2 separate regions of the Homo sapiens genome follow, and region 2 is linked to region 1. The links are contacts of gene promoters, found by promoter capture Hi-C in blood cells and fetal thymus (Javierre and others, 2016). All regions are on one chromosome and are shown on one strand. Each heading gives the region's core, a stretch centred on a gene start or on the middle of the fragment in contact. The rest is flanking DNA. Distances are from core to core; before and after follow the strand shown. Region 1 holds the start of PCDHA4 (protocadherin alpha 4). Region 2 overlaps PCDHGA1 (protocadherin gamma subfamily A, 1).

Region 1 (5,323 bases), core at 2,189-4,688:
TTTTTCATTCCTCAATGTTTCCACTCCTCTGGAAATACATTAATAGTTAAGTATGAATTATGTGATTCATAATTAGACTTTTCCAGTTTTGTGGTTTTGTGGTTAAAACGGTAAGATTTTTGTTGCTAATTTTTGAACCAAATCAGCAGTAAGTTATGATATCCACACTTGTAATTTTGTTTTGTTATTAGGTGCAGTAGTAGAATTATTTTATTGCTAAATGCCTGGGTATAAGACAAATATTTTTTCTTAGATGAATTGCATTATTTAGAGAATCTGACTTCGACTTGTTTTATACTTATCCCTATACAATGCTTCTTCAATATCTTTTGCCACTTTTCATTTGGACTTCCTACTACCTGTTAGTACAAATGTTACTTGCTCATTTTATGAGTTCACCTAATGCTTATAACTCCCTATTGATTATGCTTTTCCACCTTCAGTTTCAAAAATTAGATCATTACACCTGTTGTCTTTTATGGAACCTCTTTTATTCTCTTATTCACTTGTTTGGAGTCTCAATCCTTATTTTTTACTTGAATATGATTCATTTTAGGCCTTGTGCTCTAATTTGGCAATACCGTTTATTGTTTCTTGATTTCCCAGTTGGGAAAAAAATCGAGAATAACAATTGCATTTAGAATTGCATCTTTGTTCATCTTTAGTTTATCACTACTTTATTTAATACTACTTTAATAATACTACTGTATTATATGTTAAAATTTATTACTAATAACTAAAATATCAATATGAAGTGAAAATTTAATAGTTGTATAGTATATTTATATATTCATTTTAAAAGAATGTTTTAAATCTTGTTAAAAATAATTTTCAATCTGAACAATATCTTGAAAATAATTATGGTATCTAATTTTAAAACTATCCCTACTAGCAAAACTTTTTATTCATTAGTGTCTTTTGCATACCATACTAAGGATGCTAATATGAAATAAGTTTGATAAGCCAATGTTATAATGTTATTACTGGTTAACTTCTCTGAATAGCATCCTGCCTATTAATGTGTGCCATGCAATAAGTAGAAAACTCCAAATAACCAGAACCAAATGAAATTGAAGGTAGACTTTTTTCTAATCACTACCCCTACATATTTGGTTATCTCCTCTAGCAATTAGTTGGACTCCCATTTAAGTTTCCCTACCACTGGAGAGAAATAGTAACCAACTGAAACCTGGTTAATACTCATTGACAGTGTGGGAGGTCTAACACGTAAAATAGATATTTTTCTTGACTCCTCTCCTTCCCCTCACTTCCATTTTCTTTATTTCCTTTTTTGGCACTATCCTTTGTTGCTCCCTTGTCCATGAAGTAGTAGCCATAGTGTGTCCATCTCAGGTCAGTATTTTAAAAATTTAGTTCTGTTATCAGCTTCTTGAATATAATAGAGTCAGCCAAAGTACTTGTCTTCCCAGATATGGAACTTCAATCTTCAAATCCAGCTTGCCTCTTGAAACTATTGTCTAACAAGACTCTTGGCAAAGACATTTTGAAGACTTTGGAATTTTCACTTCACAGATGTACTGATGCTATGCCAAATAAATATTGAATAGCTACCAAATAAACATTGTTTTCTATTCTGCTGCATTCCCCATCTGTACATTAAAATACCTGGTAAATGAAAATATTACAAATGAAATGGGTGAAAATGGAATTCTTCCTCCTTTTTTCCAATGTGCTTGATGTCAATGATCATTTTGTAAAAATATAGTTTGGGTCCCCACATAGTGAAAGTACTCTGGTTTCTGTTTGATTCAGAAATTTGGTGGGTTTTTTGTTGTTGTTTTGGTTTTTGTGTGTGTGTGTTTGTGTGAGTGTAGTTCTTCAATAGAGAGGGAGCGTAAAGCTATTTTCACTAGATTGATTTTTTGTTTAGACAAACAGGATGAAAATAACTTTATGGATATAGGAGGCAAGGAAAGTTTTTAAATGGCTACCATTATGTCTTTATATATTAAATTTCTTTATGTAAGAAAATGTATTGTGGTTTATTTATTGGGAAGTCTTCATTCCCCATTAATACCCAGGATGATTCAAAGATCATGATTACCAAGAATTAGAATAAAAATTAAGCTAAAACCCAAGTTTTCAACATTGAACTTGAAATACATCTTAATTGGGGAAATGTCTAGAGACTTTTTTTGTATCTTTAGAAAATCATAGAGGCTATTGAAACACCACATTTTCCCAACTAGATATGCGATCACCTTAAATTAATGCATTTTATTAGGCAATGGAAGGAAGCAAACATTTTCTGCAGGGTAAATATTTAGGAAATATTAGGTAAGTCCCTCTGAGCTATTAAACAATTAAGATACAACTATTCCCTTTAAAATATATATTCCAAAAAAGGACACACATACTCAAATGCTTATAAGAGATAAATTAATGTAATAAATGGCCCACGCGATTCCACCCTGGTGCTGCAGTTTGTAAAAGAAGAAAAAATACCTGTTCAATTGGTTTGATCATGACATTCTTCATGGGTCAGGGAAGTTTTAAGTGGTTATAAAATGGGGTAAATTGGCTTTAGAAGAGTTTAGAAATGATGTGGATTACTTATAGACAGGACAAAATGAACATGCTTGTTTATTAAAAAAAGCTATTGGAAGCAGGAAATATTCAGTTTGGCTAAAATATATAAGCACTATAGGAGAAAATAGAAGCTTAGGCACATTACATACTGGAGAACAAGCAAGTACTTATAAACTGTAAGAGTCAAAATGAGAATACCAGCGTTTCTCATGGGAGCAAATGAGTTCCAATGAATAAAATTATTTGGAATGCTTTTCCATGCAAGCTATTTGCTATAACTTCCTGCTTCCTTGCACTTTCAGCCCTGACATGACTCAAGGAAGACATCTAATTAAATGCTGATGGTCTTTGATCCTTTTATAAAACATCTGCAAATTTCCCTGTCAATAGCTTGTTCTTGGCACCAGAAGTTCCCTAGAGACCAGTCCCCTCAAGTCAACAACACCAGAAATACTAGGGTGAAGAGGGTGTTATCATTAATAAAAAAAAACCCTGGAATTCTTGGGAACACAGGAATCTGTAATGAATTTTTCTAATCAACAGTTTACAGTTACATGTTTACAAAGTGTATAGTTAGGTCTCTGTAATACTTAAAACCTGTGTTGAAAAAATTATTTCTACTGAAGTAAAAGTTGCCCCTATGGCGAAACTAAGGACCACACTCAATCAATCAGTGGTACAATGTGTACCACAGTAGTACAAAATGTATTCCTATTCTCCGAAACGACTGAAATAATAAATAAAACCAAGTAGTTTACAGTAGAGTGTGTGGGGGTTTCCACAATTGCTACTTACGGTTTGGAGCCACATGATGTCGCTCTTTACCACAAAATACATGAGAGAAGGAGGAAGAAGGGAAAATTCCTTCTATTCTTACTGGAAGGAACCATATACACTCTTTGGAGTCTGAAATATGGAGGATGCAGCTGCACTTGACTGACCGATTAAAAGATTTCCCTTGACTTTGAGAAACGATATTTAATCAGAACAAAATACTGTGCACTAAAGATGGAGTTTTCCTGGGGAAGCGGCCAGGAATCCCGGCGTCTGCTGCTCTTACTTCTTCTCCTCGCAGCCTGGGAGGCAGGGAACGGTCAGCTCCACTACTCGGTCTCCGAGGAGGCCAAACACGGCACCTTCGTGGGCCGCATCGCGCAGGACCTGGGACTGGAGCTGGCGGAGCTGGTGCCGCGCCTGTTCCGGGTGGCGTCCAAGGGCCGCGGAGGCCTTCTGGAGGTAAATCTGCAGAATGGCATTTTGTTTGTGAATTCTCGGATCGACCGGGAGGAGCTGTGCCGGCGGAGCGCGGAGTGCAGCATCCACCTGGAGGTGATCGTAGACAGGCCGCTGCAGGTTTTCCATGTGGACGTGGAGGTGAGGGACATTAACGATAACCCGCCGGTGTTCCCAGCAACACAAAAGAACCTGTCCATCGCGGAATCCAGGCCGCTTGACTCTCGGTTTCCACTAGAGGGCGCCTCGGATGCAGATATCGGGGAGAACGCCCTGCTCACTTACAGACTGAGCCCAAATGAATACTTTTCTCTGGAAAAACCACCTGATGACGAGCTGGTAAAAGGTCTTGGGCTTATATTACGGAAATCTTTAGACAGAGAAGAAGCTCCGGAGATTTTTTTAGTGCTCACAGCCACTGATGGAGGCAAACCCGAGTTGACTGGCACCGTTCAGTTACTCATCACAGTACTGGATGCCAATGACAATGCCCCAGCTTTTGACAGAACCATTTATAAGGTGAGATTACTAGAAAATGTTCCTAATGGAACATTGGTAATTAAACTTAACGCCTCAGATTTAGACGAAGGATTGAATGGGGACATTGTTTATTCATTCTCAAATGATATTTCGCCAAATGTGAAATCCAAGTTTCACATAGATCCAATTACTGGACAAATTATTGTAAAGGGATATATTGACTTTGAAGAAAGCAAATCCTATGAAATTATTGTAGAGGGCATTGATAAGGGACAGCTCCCACTTTCTGGCCATTGTAGAGTTATTGTGGAAGTAGAAGACAACAACGATAATGTCCCAGATTTGGAATTCAAGTCTTTATCACTTCCAATTAGAGAGGACGCTCCACTGGGTACAGTCATCGCCCTGATCAGCGTGTCCGACAAAGACATGGGTGTCAATGGGCTGGTCACCTGCTCCTTGACGTCCCACGTCCCCTTCAAGCTGGTGTCCACCTTCAAGAATTACTACTCGTTGGTGCTGGACAGTGCCCTGGACCGCGAGAGCGTGTCAGCCTATGAGCTGGTGGTGACCGCGCGAGACGGGGGCTCGCCTTCGCTGTGGGCCACGGCCAGTGTTTCTGTGGAGGTGGCTGATGTGAACGACAACGCTCCGGCGTTCGCGCAGCCCGAGTACACAGTGTTCGTGAAGGAGAACAACCCGCCGGGCTGCCACATCTTCACTGTGTCTGCGTGGGACGCGGACGCGCAGGAGAACGCGCTGGTGTCCTACTCGCTGGTAGAGCGGCGGGTAGGGGAGCGCGCGCTGTCGAGCTACGTTTCGGTGCATGCGGAGAGCGGCAAGGTGTACGCGCTGCAGCCGCTGGACCACGAGGAGCTAGAGCTGCTGCAGTTTCAGGTGACCGCTCGCGATGCCGGCGTGCCACCTCTGGGCAGCAACGTGACGCTGCAGGTGTTCGTGCTGGACGAAAACGACAACGCGCCAGCACTGCTAGCGCCTCGGGCGGGTGGCACTGGTGGCGCAGTGAGCGAGCTGGTGCCATGGTCGGTGGGTGTGGGCC
Region 2 (5,326 bases), core at 1,113-3,612, 660 kb after region 1:
TCTCTTATGGGTTAGAATCCTGCACTGTCTTTTGAACAAATGTCTAAAAGCTTTTATCACACATTTTGATCCACTTCCCAGTTGTTATAGTGGTATATCTGGTTTCACATGACTGAAAGGAAAAGTTTTCACCTTGCTTTTTGTACTAATAATATATCCTGGAAATCATTCTATATAAATTTATAGAAATCTTCATTTTTAAAATAGCTTCATAAAACTCCATTGTAAAAACCAGGTGCAGTGGCTCATGCTTGTAATCCCACACTTTGGGAGGCCAAGGCGGGTGGATCACCTGAGGTCAGGAGTTCAAGGCCAGCCTGGCCAACATGGTGAAACTCCGTCTCTACTAAAAATACAAAAATTAGCTGGGTGTGGTGGTGGGCGCCTGTAGTCCCAGCTACTTGGAAGGCTGAGGCAGGAGAATTGCTTGATTTCAGGAGGCGGAGATTGCAGTGAGCTGAGATTGCGCCACTGCACTCCAGCCTGGGCTACAGAGCGAGACTCCGTCTAAAAAAAAAAAAAAGCAAAAAAAAAAACTCCATTGTATGTGCACATATCATTATCTGTTCAACCCATCTATGACTTGTCATTTAGGTAGTTTCCATCCAATATTTTTGCAATATAAAAAATGCTAATGAAGAACCTGAGATATATATATATCTATATATATAGATATATATGTTTGTTGTTGTTGTTGTTATTTTTGAAGTATGTACGTATAATAAATTCCTAATAGTGTGATTGCTGCATCATAAGGTAAAGGCATATGTAGTTTTGTTAAATATAGCTATTCCCCATCTTGCATTCCTACAAATAGATGAGAATGTCCATTGTCCCATAGTCTCCTTTGCAGAGTATATTGTCAAGCTTTTTAATTGTTGCCAACCTGATGGGTAAAAAGATATCTCCAAATAATTTTAATTAAAATTTCTCTTATTATGAATGAGGTTAAATAGTTTTTCATATGTTTAAAAGCCAGTTTATATCTTTTTGTTTTTTTAGAGACAGGAATCTTGTTCTGTTGCCCAGGCCAAATTGCAGTGATGCAGTCATAGCTCACTGTAGCCTCGCACTCCTGGGCTCAAGCAATCCTCCTACCTTAGCCTCCCAAGTAGCTAGGACTACAGATGGATGCCACCATGTCCAGCTAATTTTTTTATTTTTTTGTAGAGATGTGAGGTCTCACTATGTTGCCCAGGCTTGTCTTGAACTACTGGCTTCAAGTGATCCTCCCACCTCAGCCTCCCAAAGTGCTAAGATTACAGCCATGAACCACCACAAATGACCCTATATATTTTTTTGAATTGTCTGTTCATGTCTTATTTTCATTTTTCTAGTAGTTTTTTTTTTAAGTGTTTTAGCCTAAATTTGTAAAAAGTTTAGGGGATATATGAAGGGACTCTAAATGTTTATGAAGAAATTTAATTAAAAGATAAAAATAAAAATATAAGCTTTATTTTTCAACATGAGCTCCATCAAGTTCAAGGCACTTTTGTAAGCAATGATACTAGCCATTTAGTTCACCCCTAAAGAACTGAGAGTCCTGGGAATTTAGCCATGTCAATGCAGTATTTTTTATATTGGTTACTGAAGAAAAAATGGGTGCCCTTTAAAGTTGTAAGATTAGGAACAAAAACAAGTCAGAAGAAGCCAAATCAGCACTGAAAGGTGGGCACTTAATGATTACCCAAGAAAACTCTCACCAAATTGCCCTTGCTTCATGAGAGGAATGAGCGGGAGCATTGTCGTGGTCAGGAAGGATTCTGGGGAAGTTTTCCCAGGCATTTTTTCTGCTGAAGCTTTGGTAACTTTCTCAAAACACTCTCATAATAATCAGATCTTATCACTCTTTGGCCCTCCAGGAAGTCAACCAGCAAAATGCTTTGAACATCCCAAAAAAGCGCTTGCCATGACATTTGCTCTTGACCAGTCTGCTTTTGCATTGGTCAAATGCCACCACTTCCACCTCTTGTGCTTTGTTTTCAGGATCAGACTGGTAAAGTCATGTTTCATCTCTTGTTACAGTTTTTTTTTTTTTAAGAAACCCTTCAGGATCTTGATCACATTTGTTTAAAATTTCAACTGAGGCTGGGCCCAGTGGCTCATGCCTGTAATCCCAGCACTTTGGGAGGCCGAGGCGGGCAAATCACGAGGTCAGGATTTCGAGTCCATCCTGGCTAACATGGTGAAACCCCATCTCTACTAAAAATACAAAAAATTAGCCGGGCATGGTGGCAGGCACCTGTAGTCCCAGCTACTCGGGAGGGTGAGGCAGGAGAACGGCATGAACCCAGGAGACGGAGCTTGCAGTGAGCTGATATCATGCCACTGCACTCCAGCCTGGGCAACAGAGTGAGACTCCAGCTCAAAAAAAAAATCAAGTGAAAACTCTGGTCTTAAACTGCAGCTGATCTATTTTATTTTTATTTTTTTTCAGACACAGCCTTGCTCTGTTACCCAGGCTGGAGTGCAGTGGCACCATCATGGCTCAATGCAGCCTTGGCCTCGTGAGCTCAAGCAATCTTCCCACCTCAGGCTCCCAAGTAGCTGGGACTACAGGCACATGCTACCATGCCTGGATAATTTTTTTGCAGCTAATCTAGATGTAATGGTTTTGGCACCCATCTAATGGAAAGTTTGCTCAACTTTAATTTTTCAGTCAGAATTGTGTAAGCTGAACCGAGATGTCTATGGTGTTGGCTATTGTTTCTGCTGTTAATTGTAGGTCTTCTTTAATTAGAGCACAGACAAGATCATTTTTTTTCCTCCCAAATTGATGTAGATGGTCTTTTGCTGTGGGCTTCATCTTCAACATTGTCTCATCCCTTCTTAAAACAAGCTAGCTACTTGTAAACTGCCGTTTTCTTTGGAGCATTGTCTCCATAAACTTTTCACAAAACATCAGTGATTTCACCGTTCTTCCACTCAAGCTTCATCATAAATTTGATGTCTGTTCTTGTTTCCATTTTAGCAGAATTCATGTTACTCTGATAGGGGCTCTTTTCAAACTGTTATCTTATTCTTCTTAGTGCCTCAAACTAGATCCTATTCAGACATGGTATAACAAGTTAGTATGGGTTTATTTTGGTGCAAGAAATATTTTGAAATCCACACATTTTTTTCATAATATGCATTTTCCATGAAGTTTTTGAAAACTCCTTGTATTAGGAATATTAGTCCTTTGTCCAGTAAACAGACTGCAAATATTTTCTCACAGCTCATCATTTACCTTTTGGCATTTTTTTGCAATGCAATTTTTTTCCCTTTGTTTTTGTTTTTTGTGTAATGAATCAATGTTTTCTTTTTTTTTTTTTTTTAGACCAAGTCTCACTCTGTCACACAGGCTGGAGTACAATGGTGCAATCTCAGCTCACTGCAACCTCTGCCTCCCAGGTTCAAGTGATTCTCATCTCTCAGCCTCCCAAGTAGCTGGGATTACAGGCACATGCCACCATGCCTGGCTAATTTTTGTATTTTTAGTAGAGATGGGGTTTCACCATGTTGGCCAGGCTGGTCTCGAACTCTTGACCTCAAGTGATCCACTCACCTCGGCCTCCCACAGTGCTGGGATTAGAGACGTAAGCCACTGCCCCCGGCCAAATCAACGTTTTCTTATATTGCATTTAGGTTTTAAGTCATAGTTAGAAAGCCTTTCCCCACACCTAGGTTATAGAAACATTCATTACTTTTTTCTTCCAGTGCTAGTACTTGCATGGTTTTTGGTTTCCACATTTAGATCCCTGATCTAATTGGAGTTTATTCTTTTGTGTGCTGAGATATGGATCTGATTATATCTTTTTTCCCAAATGGCTATCCAGTTGTCCCAATGCCATTTATTAAGCACTTCATCTTTGTCCCAGTGATTTGAGATAGCATCTTTATCATGTACCAAACTTCTATAGTGCCAGAAGATTTTTATTTTTTTTAGACAGGGTCTGGCTCTGTTGCCCAGGCTGGAGTGTAGTGGCACAATCCCAGCTCGCTGCAACCTCCGCCTCACATGCTCAAGTGCCCGCACCTCAGCCTCTCAAGTAGCTGGGACTACAGGCACATGCCACCACACCAGGCTGATTTTTATATTTTTTTGTAGAATGAGATTTCACCATGTTGCCCAGGCTGGTCTCAAACTCCTGAGCTCAAGAAATCCGCCCACCTCAGCCTCCCAAAATGCTAGGATTACAAGCATGAGCCACCACACCCGGCTGCCAGAAAATTTTAATGATCAGAAAACCACAATTCTTTCTTCCTCTGTTATATGTTGAAGTAAAATACTTCATTTAGAAAACTAAGCCGGGCACAGTGGCTCACACCTGTAATCCCAGCACTTTGGGAGGTTGAGGCAGGCAGATCACCTGAGGTTAGGAGTTTGAGACCAGCCTGGCCAACATGGTGAAACCCTGTCTCTGCTAAAAATAGAAAAATTTGCTGGGCATGGTGGCGGGTGCCTGTAATTCCAGCTACTTGGGAGGATGAGGTAGGAGAATTGCCTGAACCTGGGAGGCAGAGGTTGTGGTGAGCCGAGACCACGCCATTGCACCCCAGCCTGGGCAACAAGAGCAACGGTAAACTCCATCTCAAAAAAAAAAAAAAAAAAAGAAAGAAAAAAGAAATAACTCAGCCATACAAGGCTACCCATTTGGTGAGAACTAATAATAAGTTAGATAGCAAGGTAATAGCAAAATGTGGGTGCAAAATTAAAGCAAGTTATTTCTGAGGAGAATGTAGGTCTCATGGAAGATTTTCATGTGGACAAATTTAGTAAATTTTTTGCAGGTAGTTTCCTGACATATTTAACATTTGTGATATAGTAAACAATAAGAAGGTACTAAAGGCTGGGCGCGGTGGCTCACGCCTGTAATCCCAGCACTTTGGGAGGCCGAGGTGGGCGGATCACAAGGTCAGGAGATCAAGACCATCCTGGCTAACACGGTGAAACCCCGTCTCTACTAAAAATATAAAAAGTTAGCTGGGCGTGGTGGCGGGTGCCTGTAGTCCCAGCTACTCGGGAGGCTGAGGCAGGAGAATGGCGTGAACCCGGGAGGCGGAACTTGCAGTGAGCCAAGATCAAGCCACTGCACTCCAGCCTGGGCAACAGAGCGAGACTCCATCTCAAAAATAATAATAATAATAATAAGGTACTAATATGATCCAGACTAGAAGAGAATAGCACTAAAATGGGAGATGGGGTAAACCTGTGGTTTTTTTTACCTTAGGCTTTTGACTTCCAAAATTATTGTTTTTGCTGGGTGCGGTGGGTCACTCCTGTAATCCCAGCACTTTGGGAGGCCAAGGTGGGAGGATTGCTTGAGCCTAGGAGTTTGAGACC

Evidence for each region. The method cuts DNA at HindIII sites, captures the fragments that hold promoters and counts their contacts. A CHiCAGO score of 5 or more calls a contact.
Region 2: a fragment that was not itself captured here is called in contact with the fragment with the promoter of PCDHA4 in region 1 in 1 of 17 cell types (erythroblasts); the score reaches 5.0 in erythroblasts.

Annotation. Positions count from the first base shown.
Region 1 is chr5:140,803,630-140,808,952 of GRCh38, forward strand. PCDHA4 (protocadherin alpha 4) reads left to right here and starts at 3,439. Exons shown (of 4, transcript NM_018907.4): 1 at 3,439-5,323. The coding sequence starts at 3,559. The region is part of intron 1 of PCDHA1 (protocadherin alpha 1); the gene reads left to right. All of the region lies in intron 1 of PCDHA2 (protocadherin alpha 2), which reads left to right. The region is part of intron 1 of PCDHA3 (protocadherin alpha 3); the gene reads left to right. It also overlaps PCDHA@. The HindIII fragment of the contact is 11,768 bases long and covers 2,680-5,323 here.
Region 2 is chr5:141,463,755-141,469,080 of GRCh38, forward strand. All of the region lies in intron 1 of PCDHGA1 (protocadherin gamma subfamily A, 1), which reads left to right. The region is part of intron 1 of PCDHGA2 (protocadherin gamma subfamily A, 2); the gene reads left to right. All of the region lies in intron 1 of PCDHGA3 (protocadherin gamma subfamily A, 3), which reads left to right. All of the region lies in intron 1 of PCDHGB1 (protocadherin gamma subfamily B, 1), which reads left to right. It also overlaps PCDHGA4, PCDHGB2, PCDHGA5, PCDHGB3, PCDHGA6 and PCDHGA7, and 10 more genes. Among named protein-coding and RNA genes, the nearest start is that of PCDHGC3, 9.5 kb to the right of the region's middle. The HindIII fragment of the contact is 1,131 bases long and covers 1,798-2,928 here.